3 separate regions of the Homo sapiens genome follow, and all the other regions are linked to region 2. Evidence: promoter capture Hi-C in 16 types of primary human blood cells and fetal thymus (Javierre and others, 2016). All regions are on one chromosome and are shown on one strand. Each heading gives the region's core, a stretch centred on a gene start or on the middle of the fragment in contact. The rest is flanking DNA. Distances are from core to core; before and after follow the strand shown. Region 1 has its middle 18 kb from the start of BHLHA9. Region 2 holds the start of SLC43A2 (solute carrier family 43 member 2). Region 3 holds the start of BHLHA9 (basic helix-loop-helix family member a9).

What was found. The method cuts DNA at HindIII sites, captures the fragments that hold promoters and counts their contacts. A CHiCAGO score of 5 or more calls a contact.
Region 1: a contact is called between a fragment that was not itself captured here and the fragment with the promoter of SLC43A2 in region 2, in 2 of 17 cell types (endothelial precursors and erythroblasts). The highest score is 7.8, in endothelial precursors.
Region 3: a contact is called between a fragment that was not itself captured here and the fragment with the promoter of SLC43A2 in region 2, in 1 of 17 cell types (endothelial precursors). The highest score is 8.0, in endothelial precursors.

What each region holds. Positions count from the first base shown.
Region 1 is chr17:1,250,603-1,254,873 of GRCh38, reverse strand. No RefSeq gene overlaps it. Among named protein-coding and RNA genes, the nearest start is that of BHLHA9, 18 kb to the left of the region's middle. The HindIII fragment of the contact is 4,133 bases long and covers 232-4,271 here.
Region 2 is chr17:1,626,068-1,630,574 of GRCh38, reverse strand. SLC43A2 (solute carrier family 43 member 2) reads left to right here and starts at 1,741. Exons shown (of 14, transcript NM_152346.3): 1 at 1,741-1,781; 2 at 2,655-2,860. The coding sequence starts at 2,701. RefSeq lists enhancers at 2,493-3,030, 3,031-3,568. The HindIII fragment of the contact is 5,783 bases long and covers 1-3,909 here.
Region 3 is chr17:1,267,154-1,271,622 of GRCh38, reverse strand. BHLHA9 (basic helix-loop-helix family member a9) reads right to left here and starts at 1,179. Exons shown (of 1, transcript NM_001164405.2): 1 at 1-1,179. The coding sequence starts at 1,059. The coding sequence ends at 352. RefSeq lists enhancers at 27-777, 2,382-3,184, 3,185-3,988 and a silencer at 3,094-3,323. The HindIII fragment of the contact is 2,719 bases long and covers 1,330-4,048 here.

The DNA.
Region 1 (4,271 bases), core at 1,049-3,548, 380 kb after region 2:
CCGTCTCTACTAAAAATACAAAAAATTAGCTGGGCGTGGTGGCGGGCGCCTTTAGTCCCAGCTACTCGGGAGGCTGAGGCAGGAGAATGGCATGACTCAGGAGGCGGAGATTGCAGTGAGCCGAGATCGTGCCACTGCACTCTGGCCTGGGCGACAGAGCAAGACTCGTCTCAAAAAAAAAAAAAAAAAAAAAAAAAAAGAAAACCATCATTAAATGGGATTAGCAAAGCTTTATTATTTACGTATTTAATTTTATTTTTGAGATGGAGTTTCGCTCTTCTTGCCCAGGCTGGAGTGCAATGGTGCAATCTCGGCTCACTGCAACCTCTGCCTCTTGGGCTCAAGCAATTCTCTTGCCTCAGACTCCCAAGTAGCTGGGATTACAGGCGACCGCCAACACGCCTGGCTAATTTTTTTGTATTATTATTATTTTGAGACGGACTCCCGCTCTGTCGCCCAGGCTGGAGTGCAGTGCCGCGATCTGGGCTCACTGCAAGCTCCGCCTCCCGGGTTCACGTCATTCTCCTGCCTCAGCCTCCCGAGTAGCTGGGATTACAGGCACCTGCCACCACGCCTGGCTATTTTTTTTTTTTTTTGTATTTTTAGTAGAGACGGGGTTTTGCCACGTTGGCCAGGCTGGTCTCGAACTCCTGACCTTGTGATCCGCCCGTCTCGGCCTCCCAAAGTGCTGGGATTACAGGCGTGAGCCACCGCGCCTGGCGGACATTGGGATTTAAGATTTCAAGGCAGGATTAGGCTGAGGTCCTCGGGTGGCCGTGTGACCTCTGCACACCCAGAAGCGCCTTCCTCCCTGCGCCTGCGCCAGGTCCAGCTTTGGGCTCCTGGGGTCTCAGCCAGTGCGCGGTCTTCCTGCCTCAGCTCCACGGGGAGCTCTTGGACGCTCCGCAGCGCTTTCGCAGAGTCCCCAGTTCTCCCGTCCCGCCGGGACTCCAGGAAGGGGTGAGTGTTTGAAGGCTCCTCCCACGGAGCGTGAGCATTTCCTGTACAGCAGCTGGGCAGCCTCTCAGCGGACTGGTGTGAGCTGGGGCTGCGGGGAAGGTTCCAGAACAGCGGGCTATGTTTAACCTGGCACAGGTGCCCAATTCCCAGCTCAGGGAAGGGGCGTGGTAGGTGGGAAACAATCTTGCTTTCATTGTTTTTTATCATTGCATTATTTTTTACATTAAAAAAATTTTTTTTGAGACAGAGTCTTGCTCTGTCGCCAGGCTAGAGTGCAATGGCACGATCTCGGCTCACTGCAACCTCCGCCTCCCGGGTTCAAGCGATTCTCGGCCGGGCGCGCTGGCTCAAGCCTGTAATCCCAGCACTTTGGGAGGCCGAGGCGGGCGGATCACGAGGTCAGGGGTTCGAGACCAGTCTGACCAACACGCTGAAACCCCGTCTCTACTAAAAATTCAAAAAATTAGCCAGGCTTGGTGGGGGGCGCCTGTAGTCCCAGCTACTCGGGAGGCTGAGGCAGGAGAATCGCTTGAACCTGGGAGGCGGAGGTTGCAGTGAGCCGAGATTGCACCATTGCACTCCAGCCTGGGCGACAGAGTGAGATTCCATCTCAAAAAAAAAAAAAAAAAAAAAAAAATAGCCATTCTCCTGCCTCAGCCTCCCGAGTATCTGGGATTACAGGCGCCCTCCAACATGCCAGCCTAATTTTTGTATTTTTAGTAGAGACGGCATTTCACCATGTTGGCCAGGCTGGTCTCAAACTCCCAACCTCAGGTGATCCTTCTATCTCAGCCTCCCAAAGTGCTGGGATTACAGGCGTGAGCCACTGCACCCAGCCCATCGTTTATTATTTTATTAAACATTTAGGATGCTGGATTCAGTGGGCATCTTCACCTGGTTTCATTACTAGTTTTCCTTTTCACAAATCCTTCCGGCTTGTTATTAAGAAATAACTTTAGGGGCCGGGCGCGGTGGCTCACGCCTGTAATCCCAGCACTTTGGGAGGCCAAAGTGGGCAGATCACGAGGTCAGGAGATTGAGACCATCCTGGCTAACACGGTGAAATCCCGTCTCTACTAAAAATACAAAAAATTAGCCAGGGGTGGTGACGGGCCCCTGTAGTTCCAGCTACTCGGGAGGCTGAGGCAGGAGAATGGCTTGAACCCGGGAGGCGGAGCTTGCAGTGAGCGGAGATTGCACCACTGCACTCCAGCCTGGGCGACAGAGCGAGACTCCATCTCAAAAAAAAGAAAAAAAAGAAATAACTCTCTCCCCCAGGGGCCAAAGAGGGCCGGGGAGAAAATGAAATTGACCAAGTGTCAATGAACGAGGGCAGGGGAGGGATAAATGCTCCATCCTGCTCCTTCAGCAGTGGGCGTGGGTCCAAAACGACTGTTAGACTCATAAATTGCTCACTTATCCTCCCTGTTTGCTCCAAATGGCTGGAAAAGCTATTTCTGCTAATCACAGGCGTAGGCCCGTTGCTGGAAGGGGGCCAGCCTGGGCCCAGCAGGAGTGTGAATTGCACCCGGATTCATTATCTGTATCTAGTCCCACATTTTAGTGGTAGGTTTTTGTTTGATTTCAAAGTGAGATGGTTAGGTCATTATTTGTTAAATTATAGCTTTTAATTAGCAGATCTATTGAAATGAAAAGCCTGGAAGAGACACACACACACACACACGCCGCTAAGTTTTTGTTTGGAATTTATAATTATTACTGTTAGGAAAACATTAGTTGGGGGCGTTAAAGTCATTTTTTTTTTTAAAGAAAATCTTCAAATTATGCGCTGTTGGGGGAAGGGGGGAGGGAGACACCAGTGAGCTAGAGACCTCCCGTAATGCCAACAGTATTATTACCCAGCCCCGGGTCCTTGTCTTTTTAGAAAGAAAGGGAACAGATGGGTTTATAGTAATTCATATTCTTTCTCCTCACGGCGGGAATCAGAGATTAAATCAGTGGGTAACCAAGACTGGCTGCCATGGAGTTCTGCTCCGTTCCTAATTCCCCTGGAAGGTAGGGAGGATGGTTGAGGGGCGGTGGGGTTGGAGCAGGGCAGTGTGGTGGGGAGTGGGTCAGCCTTGGTAGATTTGCCTCTGGGGGTTTAGTTTCTGCCTTTTGGAGGAACAAGGAGAGGCTAATATTCTCTCTCTCTCTTTTTTTTTTTTGAGTCTTGCTCTGTCGCCCAGGCTGGAGTGCAACAGCGAGATCTCAGCTCACTGCAACCTCCGCCTCCCGGGTTCAAGTGATTCTCGTGCCTCAGCCTCCCGAGTAGCTGGGACTACAGCGTGCACCCACTCCCGGCTAATTTTTGTATTTCTAGTAGAGATGGGGTTTCAACATGTTGGCCAGGCTGGTCTCGAACTCTTGACCTCGTGATCCACCTGTCTCGGCCTCCCAAAGTGCTGGGATTACAGGCGTGAGCCATGGTGCCTGGCCGGCAGTGATCTTGATCCCCACCCTCTTCCCCAGGGTTGGGGTGCGGGGGTGAGTTCCAATTCAGATGTCTTCCATCTTCTCTTATTTTGAAGCCCCTTCCTTTGAAAACAGGACACTTTGCAAAGGTCACTTGTAACCAGAGGCTTTCTGGTTGTGTGTTAAGGGTTTTTCTGAGTGAGCTTTCCCAGAAGGGGAGATGAGAAAATAGCCTATTAATAAATAGCACGTTGTTCTAAAAGAGTTAGGGGCTTCTGGCCAGGCGTGGTGACTCACACCTGTAATCCCAGCACTTTGGGAGGCCGAGACAGCTGGATCACGAGGTCAGGAGATCGAGACCATCCTGGCTAACACAGTGAAACTCTGTGTCTACTAAATATACAAAAAATTAGCCCGGCGTGGTGGCGGACGCCTGTAGTCCCAGCTACTCGGGAGGCGGAGGCAGGAGAATGGGGTGAACCTGGAAGGCGGAGCTTGCAGTGAGCCGAGATGGCGCCACTGCACCCAGCCTGGGAGACAGAGCGAGACCCTGTCTTAAAAAAAAAAAAAAAAAAAGAGTTAGAGGCTTCTGTTGTTATTGGGGAATTGTTTGTTTGTTTTGATTTTGCAAAACCTGAGTGTGGATCTGATGCTCCGCCTCCCCATCTTGCCTTCATCCTTATGCTTAACAATCCCATTTACTCCACTCTAGGAGTAATCAAAGATGTACAACCCTCTGCCTGTGGGGGAGAACAGCACAGATAAGAAGCGCAGAATCGGGAATTGTTTTCTGATGAGCAAATGTCAAATTTTATCGATGAGCTTTGGGGATGAGAGAAAGGGTTATCATGATAGCCTGAAGCAACTTAGATTCATTGCTCTGGATCTCTGATGGC
Region 2 (4,507 bases), core at 492-2,991:
GAGCTATGATCATGCCACCACACTCCAGCAGTCTGGGTGCCTGAGATCCTGTCTCAAAAAAAAAAAAAAAAAAAGAAAAAGAAAAAAGACAGGGTTCTTGGTATCTAACTTCAGTAGACAGTAGTAGTATGGTTATCTGAGAGAAAATGTGGAGGACAGTTCTGGGGGATATTTGAGGCATGTTTGAGCCCTGCAGCGCCGTCAGGCTGCTCAAAGAGGAGGGAAGGGTGAAGAAAGAGATTTTTCAGATGGCAGTTGAAACCTTGGGAGTGGGAAGGGTTCCACAGGGTGAGGAACCGGGTAGGCTACCAGCTGGAGCCGCCCCCCAGCAGGCTGACAGCTCCAAGCGTTGTCTGGGGGAGGTTGCCCTCGCCAGGTGGCCCGGGCGGATTCTAGACAGTAGGGGGCACACTCGGACTGGGGCAGGTGGAGCAAGAGGCGTTTGGGGCTCCCACAGCCCTGGGGTGGTGGTGGGGTTTTATTTTTGGTTTTTATTTTGGTAGAGATGGTTCTCGCCATGCTGCCCAGGCTGGTCTCAAACTCCTGTCCCCAAGTGGCCCTCCGACCTTAGCCTCCCAAACCGCTGGGATTCCAGACGTGGACACCGCGCGGCAGCCCTGGGGTGCTAAGCCAGCCCCCCGGAGCGAGCCAGGGTGACCAAGGCGATTCTGGGGCAGTCAGAGGGTCTTCCCGGGTCGGGTTAGTGCCTCGAATCCGGGGGACGAAGACGGGGAGCTGAGCTTTCGGAGCCCGGGCTTATCAGACGGGGACCCGGAGCCCCCTCGAACCCTCCCTAGCTTGTACCAGCTGGCGGACGTGGCCCGTAGCATCGCCCTGCAGAGGGGACCTTCCCTGAAAGGGACGGGGAACGGGGTGAAGGTGGCCAGCGCGGGCAGGGAGCACCCAGATGACGATCAAGGGTGGAGGGTCCCCGGAGGACCGAGCAGTGCGTGAACACGGGCGGAGAAAGGTCAGTCTGATGGGGGGAGCTCAGGAGACCCCATCCTAGGACGGGACAGACCAGCCCCAAATCCCCTTGCAGATTTCCAAGGGCCAACTTCCAGGGACCGGGCAGACGCCACCGGGGAGAGGGGAAGGGGTCGGTGCATCAGCGGGGGGCGCCACGGCTGGACCGGGTCCGGGATCCCAGGCCCCGAATACGCCGGGACGGGAACCACCGGGGCGGGGGAGCGAGGAACCAGGACCCAAAGCCCGAGGCGGCGGGGACGGCGGCGCTGCGTGGGGAGGAGGCGGGGTGGGGATTCGAGAGTGGAACCACCGTGCGGAGCCGGCGCATCTGGGCGTGGTGACCCGCGCGCAGGGGGCAGCTGGGGACGGCGGGGCGGCCGCGGGAGAGCCCGGCTGGGGGCGCTGGTGGCCCGGCGGCTTCTGGGGGGAGTCCGCTGGGGGCCGGGACGCGGAGCCGGAGCCCCAGCCTCGCAGGGTCAGGCCGCTGGAGAGGCCGCGGGGCGATGTCGCCGGGGATTCCCGGCCGCGCTGTGACTCGGGTTGAAGGCTGCAAAGCCGAGGCCCGGCCCGCAGCGCCCAGGCCCCTCCCGTCCCCCATCTCTCTTGTTTGTCTCCGAGTCCGGCCGGAACCGGCTTCTGCTCGCGGCGGGGCGGGCGGGGGGCTGGCTGCTGATTGGTCGACGCCTGTTTCCAGCCCCGCTCAGCCAATCAGCGGGCGGCAGTGTTTTCTTCTTGGGGTCGGAATAAAAGGGCTGGAATAAAAGAGGGCAGAAAAGGCGCCGGGCGGGCCCGACACACGCCGGAGGAGCCGGGTGAGCTGCAGCAGGGAGGGGATCGCGGCCGGGGCGAGGGCGCGGGGGCAGAAGCGGCCGCCGAAGGGGCGTAGGGAGAAAACGTGGGAACGAGGAGAGAGATGGAGCGATGAGGGGCCGCCAGGGAAGAGATGACGAACAGATGCGGGCTGGGGAATGGAGGCGCGGGGGTCCGAGGCCATGGAAACGGGCGAGTTGCCGGGGGAACGCCCGAGATGGGGGTCGCGCGGCTGGCTCGCGCCACCGGTTTGAACCGGCTCCTCGTCTCCCACGCTGGGTTCGCGTGGCCGCAGCGCCTAGCGACCTAGACGGCGGCCAATGGCGCGGCAGTTCCTGCGCCGTCCGGCCAATGAGCGCGCCGGGGCGGGCCGTTCCGTAGGTCTGGGCGCTGATCTTGTGGTTGAAGAAACCAGCTCTGGGGAAGGGTCTCGGGCGCGGGCGGGAGGGCACCTGTCAGGGTCCCTGGGAGAGGCAGCCCTCGGATCTGCCCCTGCCCACCTCACGCTGCGTTCCATGCTGGCCCCAGGCGATGTCAGTCCTGCTGCAGGCCAGGACTAGTTCCACGGCCCTGAGCATGCGTTAGCCCCTTCTTGCCTCCATGCCTCAGTTTACCTCGGAGTGAGCTGCGGGAGACGTCTCCCTGCCTGGCCGGGGCGGCTCTGTCGTAGCGGAGGGCAGCGGTACGAGCCGGCCGCGGGCTCGGGGTGTCCCAGGTCCGGGCAGGGCTGGGGTTCGCTTCCTCTGCTGCGCGCACCGGCCGCCGCGGCCGGGGAGGGGTGGCAATCCCGAGCCCTGCGGCAGCGGTCGGGGCTGCTGGGGGCGGCCGCAGGGGCTGGGCAAGGGCCGGCCGCTGACGCCGAGTTCTGTGCGCAGGTGGTGCAGAGCCGGAGCCGGAGCCGGAGCCGCGCCGCGCCGCACCATGGCGCCCACCCTGGCCACTGCCCATCGGCGCCGCTGGTGGATGGCCTGCACGGCCGTGCTGGAGAACCTCCTCTTCTCGGCAGTCCTCCTGGGCTGGGGCTCGCTGCTCATCATGCTCAAGTCAGAGGGCTTTTACTCCTACCTGTGTACCGAGCCAGGTGAGACAAGCGCCTGGGGTTGCGGGGGGCTCCTGGAGCTGGGGCTTTGGGAGGGGGCGGGATGGGGGCGAAGACCTAGCGAGCCACAGCACCGCATTGCCCAGTGCCTCTAGGGTATCAGAAGGCCCATCTGATCCTCACCCAGCCCTGCCGGGTACTTGTCATTGCCCCTGTTTTGTGGACGAAGACATCGAGGCTCAGAGCGATCTGTCTTGCGCAAGGCCGCAGAGCCTGGGCCTGCCATCCACCCAGAACCCCACCTGCTGTCCAGGGTGTTCCTTCCACCCGCTACGAACAGTGCTGGACTGCTCTCCTCTCCTCCCAGCCCTGGAACATAGCTTGGCTGGTAGTAAACATGTTGCTGTCTGCTTGTGAGAAAGAGGAACTCCAGATTAAGGGGCTGGGGTGCAGCAGGAGAGGAAGTGGCCTTGCCTCCACCCCAGGGAGGGCTCATCTAGAATCTAGACGTTCCTCAGGCCATTGTGGAGTCTCCTAAGTGCTTGCTGGACACAATTTCTTGTCTATTTTTGCTGCCTTATGATTCTCCAAAGGACATTTCCCCCACGGGCTCTGAGGACATCTCCGTGGCTTTCCAACCCCATGGGGATGAAGGGGAAGAGAAGAAAGGAACGTTTATGGAAATGATGCTAGGGTTGTTCTCTCCTCTTTGCCTTGTCACTGGAATTGCTGAAGGCAGGCTGAGGATGCTTCTCTACATGACATCTGCACCACCCAACACACACTTACCTTCACACCTTCATACCCTGTTGGAGGGTCCTGATGACTACAGGGCAGTAAATTCAGCCCCACAGGAGGGCCACAGCAGCCCCCAGCCTCTAGCCTCCTACCCTCCTTCTTAGGCAACCTTGACAGGAAATTTTCCCTCTGCCTTCTCCTTGATCCCAACGGTAGCTGCATAATAGCTGAGCTCACATAATCCCTGTCGCCAGTGCTAGAGTGCCCTTAGATGGAGGTAGCCCAGGTTTGACTTCCTGAATCCCCAGCAGCAGGCCTTTTCTTTCTAGAGCTCTTTGCAGGAAGAGAAAGCTTTGGACCAGCTCATGCTGGGTGTAATCCTTTGTGGAAGCCTCCCTGTTTCCCTTCTCTGATCTGCCCCGGAGATTCCTGTGTGTCCCAGTCTCTAGGGAGGGAGGCTTAGCTGGAGAGGTTCAGGGCAGGAGAAAGCAGGAGAATGCAGAGGCCGCGGGGAGAGGACAGAAAGTATATCATTTATAACTAACCTTTAGCCTTTAGCCACTCAAAAATATTTCCTAATAGCCTAAGGGTTCTTGGCAGGTCTTTCCCCACATCAGCAAGAAATCTTGGGAGTTGGGAAGAGTCAGACCTTGTTCCCTGAACAAGCTTTCTGCTTTGGCCAAGAGTTGTTAGGAGATTAATGCCTGTCCCCGAAAGGCACAGGTTGGAGTGTTTACTTCTTCCTCTCCTTTCCTCTCTCCCCCCTTAGAGATCGTGACCCTTCCTGCTTGCCTCCCTGGTGGGCTCTTTCAGGCTGGACACAGGGTTTAAAAAAAAAAAAAAAAAGCAGAAAAAAAGTCATCGTCCCCAGAGAAAGCTTTTAGTGTCTCACCCAGACCAGAGAACTGTTGTGGGCAGGTGTTTTTTTGTGTGTTTTTTTTTTAACCCACC
Region 3 (4,469 bases), core at 1,440-3,939, 360 kb after region 2:
CATCGAGAACACACAGGGCTCGGAGGCGCAGGAGTGCGAAGGCGGCATTCCAAGACGAGTTCGAGTCCAAGATGAGTTCAGGATCCTGAGCCTTTCTGGCAACTGCCTCCCTAGGCTGGGATGTGGGGGCGCAGCCCCAGGCCCCGGAGCTCCTTCTCTCTGCCCCAGGCTGGGATGTGGGGGCGCAACCCCGGGTCCCGGAGCTCCTTCTCTCTGGCGAGCTCCTTCTCTTCCACGCCAGGTCTCAGCCGGTCCAGTTCTGCTCTGTCCAAGACGCCTTTGCAGTCCCGGGTTTTATAGTCCAGCTGCCAGCCCGGCCTCCCTGCAGCCCAGCCGGTGCCTCGAGGCCGGTCAGGAGCGCGGATGGCCCATCCCGGGGGCGGATCGCAGGTAGCCCCGCGGCCAGGGAGGCGGCCCGGCAGAGGAAGCCCCCGGACAGCGGCGCCAGCTTCCCCCGGAGGCCTGTGCTAGGCCCGGCCCCTCGGCCACCGCACTGGGCCGTGCCAGGGGCGCGTGCGGGGGGCACGAGGCGCAGCGGGGCGCGGACGGCACCGAGGGGCGGGCGGCGTCTGGGCGCGCGAGGCTGGGCCCTGCAGGCGGCGGGGGGCTGGCGCCTGTGTCCCCGGTGTCCCCGCGCGCGGCCGGGCCGTGGCACTCCAGGTGTCCGCAGGGCCCGCGGGGCGCGGGGCTGGCGCGCAGGACCAGGGAGAGCGCGGCGATGCGGTGGATGGCCCTGCGCAGCGTGGCGATCTTGGAGAGCCTCTTGCCGCCCAGGTCGTGCCGCAGCGCCCGGCGCAGCGCGTTGAAGGCCTCGTTGTAGTCTAGGATGCGCTTGCGCTCCCGCACGTTGGCGGCCATGCGCCGCGCCTTGGACCGCACCGGCCGCGCGCGCCTCCTGCCCGCCGGCTCCTCCGCCTCGCCCCGGCTGCAGGAAGCGCCGTTCGCCCCCAGCACCCCCGAATCGCCCCCGGGCTCGGGGCAGGGGCCCCCCAAGTCCTCCGCAGAGTCCTCGGCCCCCTTCCGCGCCGTGAGGCCTAGTCCTGGCGCGCCCCGCAGCATGGCCTTCCCGGGCACTCGCCCTCTGCCCCAGCCCCGGCCCTCTGCCCTCTGCCCTCTGCCCACTGCCTTGGCCCGGCTCGCGACGCGGACGGTCCCCGGCTCCTGGGGCTGGACACTCCCGAGACAGGCCCCTTCCAGCTGGGCTTTATGGCACCACGCGGCGCCCCGCCCTCCCGTCCATCCATCTCCCTCCTCCTGCTTTATTATCGGCCTCCAGGTAGGTCGGCGGGGGAGGAACCGAGGGGAAGAAGGAAAGCAAGGAGGGAAGCTTGCAGGTTCTTGTAAGCGGGGACCAGACGGGCAGCCCGGCCACGCTGCCCCGGGGACCTTGCCCTGCCTAGCTCTGGGGCCGCTGTGGGGTGTCTGGGTTCCACATTCTTCCTCCCCATTCCCAGATAAGGTGCTAAGTTTGGCTTCTAGCAGGAGAGCTGATAGGAATAAAAAGAGGCAGAGGGCCGGGCACTGGGGCTCACGCCTGTCATCCCAGCAGTTTGGGAGGCCGAGGCGGGCGGATCACTTGAGTTCAGGAGTTCGAGACCAGCCTGGCCAACAGAGTATATAAAACCCCGTCTACTAAAAACACAAAAATTAGCCGGGCGTGGTGGCAGGCGCCTGTAATCCCAGTTACTCGGGAGGCTGAGGCAGGAGAATGGCTTGAGCCCAGGAGCTGGAGGTTGCAGTGAGCCGAGATCGCACCACTGCACTCTAGCCTGGGAGACAGAACGAGACTCCGTCTCAGAAAAACAACAACAAAAACAACAACAAAACCTTGAAAGTTCTTGTCAAGTCCCGTGGGCAACCACAGAGATGTCACTGAGGAAAAGCATGAGTGTCCCGGCAGGACTCATATGGGAGGCGCAGGGCCCTGCAGGTAAAGCTGACCCAGAGCTTCCGGCTTTTTCAGCTATGGAGGGCGGCTGGCTGCAATTGGGGTTCGGGTTTTGGTTGGGCCTGACTCTCCCTCCACTGCCCTTTGACTCCCCTTCTGCAGGCAGAGCTGGGATGAGTCAGCAGCAGAGGGTGACGGGGAAGATCCCTTTGCAGCCCTGGGTCCACATCAGGGGCATCTTTGGGGTCCAGAGCCCTCGGGCAGCCCCATCTTGTGACACAGCCCTGCCAGGTTATGAACTCAATGAGCAGCCTCTGTCCTCTTCCCCCAGGGATTTGCATTTGAAAGAGGGTCTCAGAAAAAAGATGATGTTTATTCCCAAAGAAAGACCCCCAGTAGAATTTCCGGCATCCACAGCTGAGTTATTTGGAGCGCCTGAAGGCCACTCATTCCCAGTCACAATCCAAATGCCTCTAAGATGCCAAGGCCTATGGCATTGGAATGGGTGTGTGGTTCACATCCATCTCGCCAAAAGAGCATTGCCAATAACCCCATTATTTCAAACTGTGAATTTCTCCATAAAAGAAAATAATAAGGCATTAGGAAGCAGAGTGTATGTATTTACTTCTGTGATTGTCTGCCTTGCCCACTAGGATGAAAGCATCCTAAGGACATCTGTATTTCCCAGGTTCTATGTCCCCCAAATCTGCAATATATGTCGAATTATAAAACAGCTAGAGGCCGGGCGCAGTGGCTCACGCCTGTAATCCCAGTACTTTGGGAGGCCGAGGTGGGCGGATCACTTGAGGTCAGGAGTTCAAGACCAGCCTGGCCAACACGGTGAAACCCCGTCTCTACTAAAATACAACAATTAGCTGGACGTGGTGGCGGGGAGCCTGTAGTCCCAGCTACTCGGGAGGCTGAGGCAGAGAATCGCTTGAACCAGGGAGGCGGAGGTTGCAGTGAGCCGAGATCCCGCCACTGCGCTCCAGCCTGGCGGACAGAGCGAGACTCCGTCTCAAAAACAACAAAAAATAAACCAGAAAAAAAAAAAAGGTCAGTAAAAGCAAAGAAAATGCCCACGCAGCGCGCGTTTCCCGGTGGCGTTTCCCGGCCGCTCCCGCCCTTCCCCGCGCACGTCAGGAAACGGCCCCACGCGAAGAACCCCGAGGACCCGGGAGAGGCGCCCCCTCCTGGAACCCGGGACTCCCGGGCGCTGCGGGGCGCGGCCGACTTCAAAGCGAGCGGCGGGCCCGGCATTTCCGCGGCACCTGCCCGTGCCCGGGAGCGCGAGTTCTCGGCCCGGGCGGGGGCGGGCGGGGGCGGGCGGGGCGCCGTGATTTAGGGTCTGGCGGTTCCGCCGGCGGCCGCGTAGGTGCCTATTAGCGCCGGGCGGGGCCTGGGCTTCAAAAGTTCCGGCTCTTCCTCCGGAAGTTCCGGCGCCGCTCCCCGAGGGAGGACGGAACGCCCGCCCGGGAGAGAAAGTCCGGGAGCCGCTCACGGGGGCCTCGACCCCACCCCCTCCGGAGAGCGGGTCCCGGGAAGCCCTGAGCCTCCTTCTCTCCCAGGCGAGACCCTGGCGTTTCAACCCACACGCCCGGTGTGGAAGACGTAGGGGCGCAATTGCAGCCTCTGCCCCTTCATGCGCTCATTCAACAAAAACTTTTTTTTTTTTGAGACCGAGTCTCGCTCTGTCGCCCAGGCTGGACCGCAGTGTCGCAATCTTGGCTCACTGCAAGCTCCACCTCTCGGGTTCAAGCGATTCTCCTGCCTCAGCCTCCCGAGTACGTGGGATTACAGGCACCCACCATCGTGCCCAGCTATTTTTTGTATTTTTACCAGAGACGGGGTTTCACCATGTTGGCCAGGATGGTCTCGAACTCCCGGCCTTAAGTGATCCGCCCGCCTCGGCCACCCAAAGTGCTGGGATTACAGACGTGAGCCACCGCTCCCGGCCCTGAACTGGATTTCAAAGGATGAATAGCAGTTTGCCAAGCAGACAGGAGGTAGAGGGAACAGCAGGTGCCAGGCCCTGGAAGTGTAAGCGGTCACAGGATGATGCGAAAAATACAGGAAAGTGACTTTGCCAAACCACCAAATGTGAGGCCAGGGAGTGACGGGAGATAAGGCTGGAGATCACCAGGCGTCGTCCCAAAAGCTTGCTTTTCGCCCTGTAGGCAGCTGGGTACTGCAAAAGGTTATTAAGCAGAGGAATGTCAGCCGTATTTGAATTACAGCTAGAGCTCTTTGAGCAGTGTGGAGAATGGATGTTAAGACAAATTCCACTTAGGAAGCAAGGATCCTGGAGGAAGGGGGGGCCTGAGCTATGCAGGCAGTGGTGAGAGAAGGGCACGGAGTCAACACCTGTTTGGAAAATAGAATTGACATGTGGGGGTGCCAATGGGATAAAGCAGATGACAAAAAGGGGTGTCGTCTCCATATTCTCCTTTAAGAGCAGAAGCCTTAGTTCAGAGACTCTCTCTACAAAGGTCCAGCCATGGACATGGGGACAAGAAAGCCAGTGGCATATGGTCACCTCAGACCCAGGGCACCCACGACTTCGGTTATTTTTTTTTTTTTT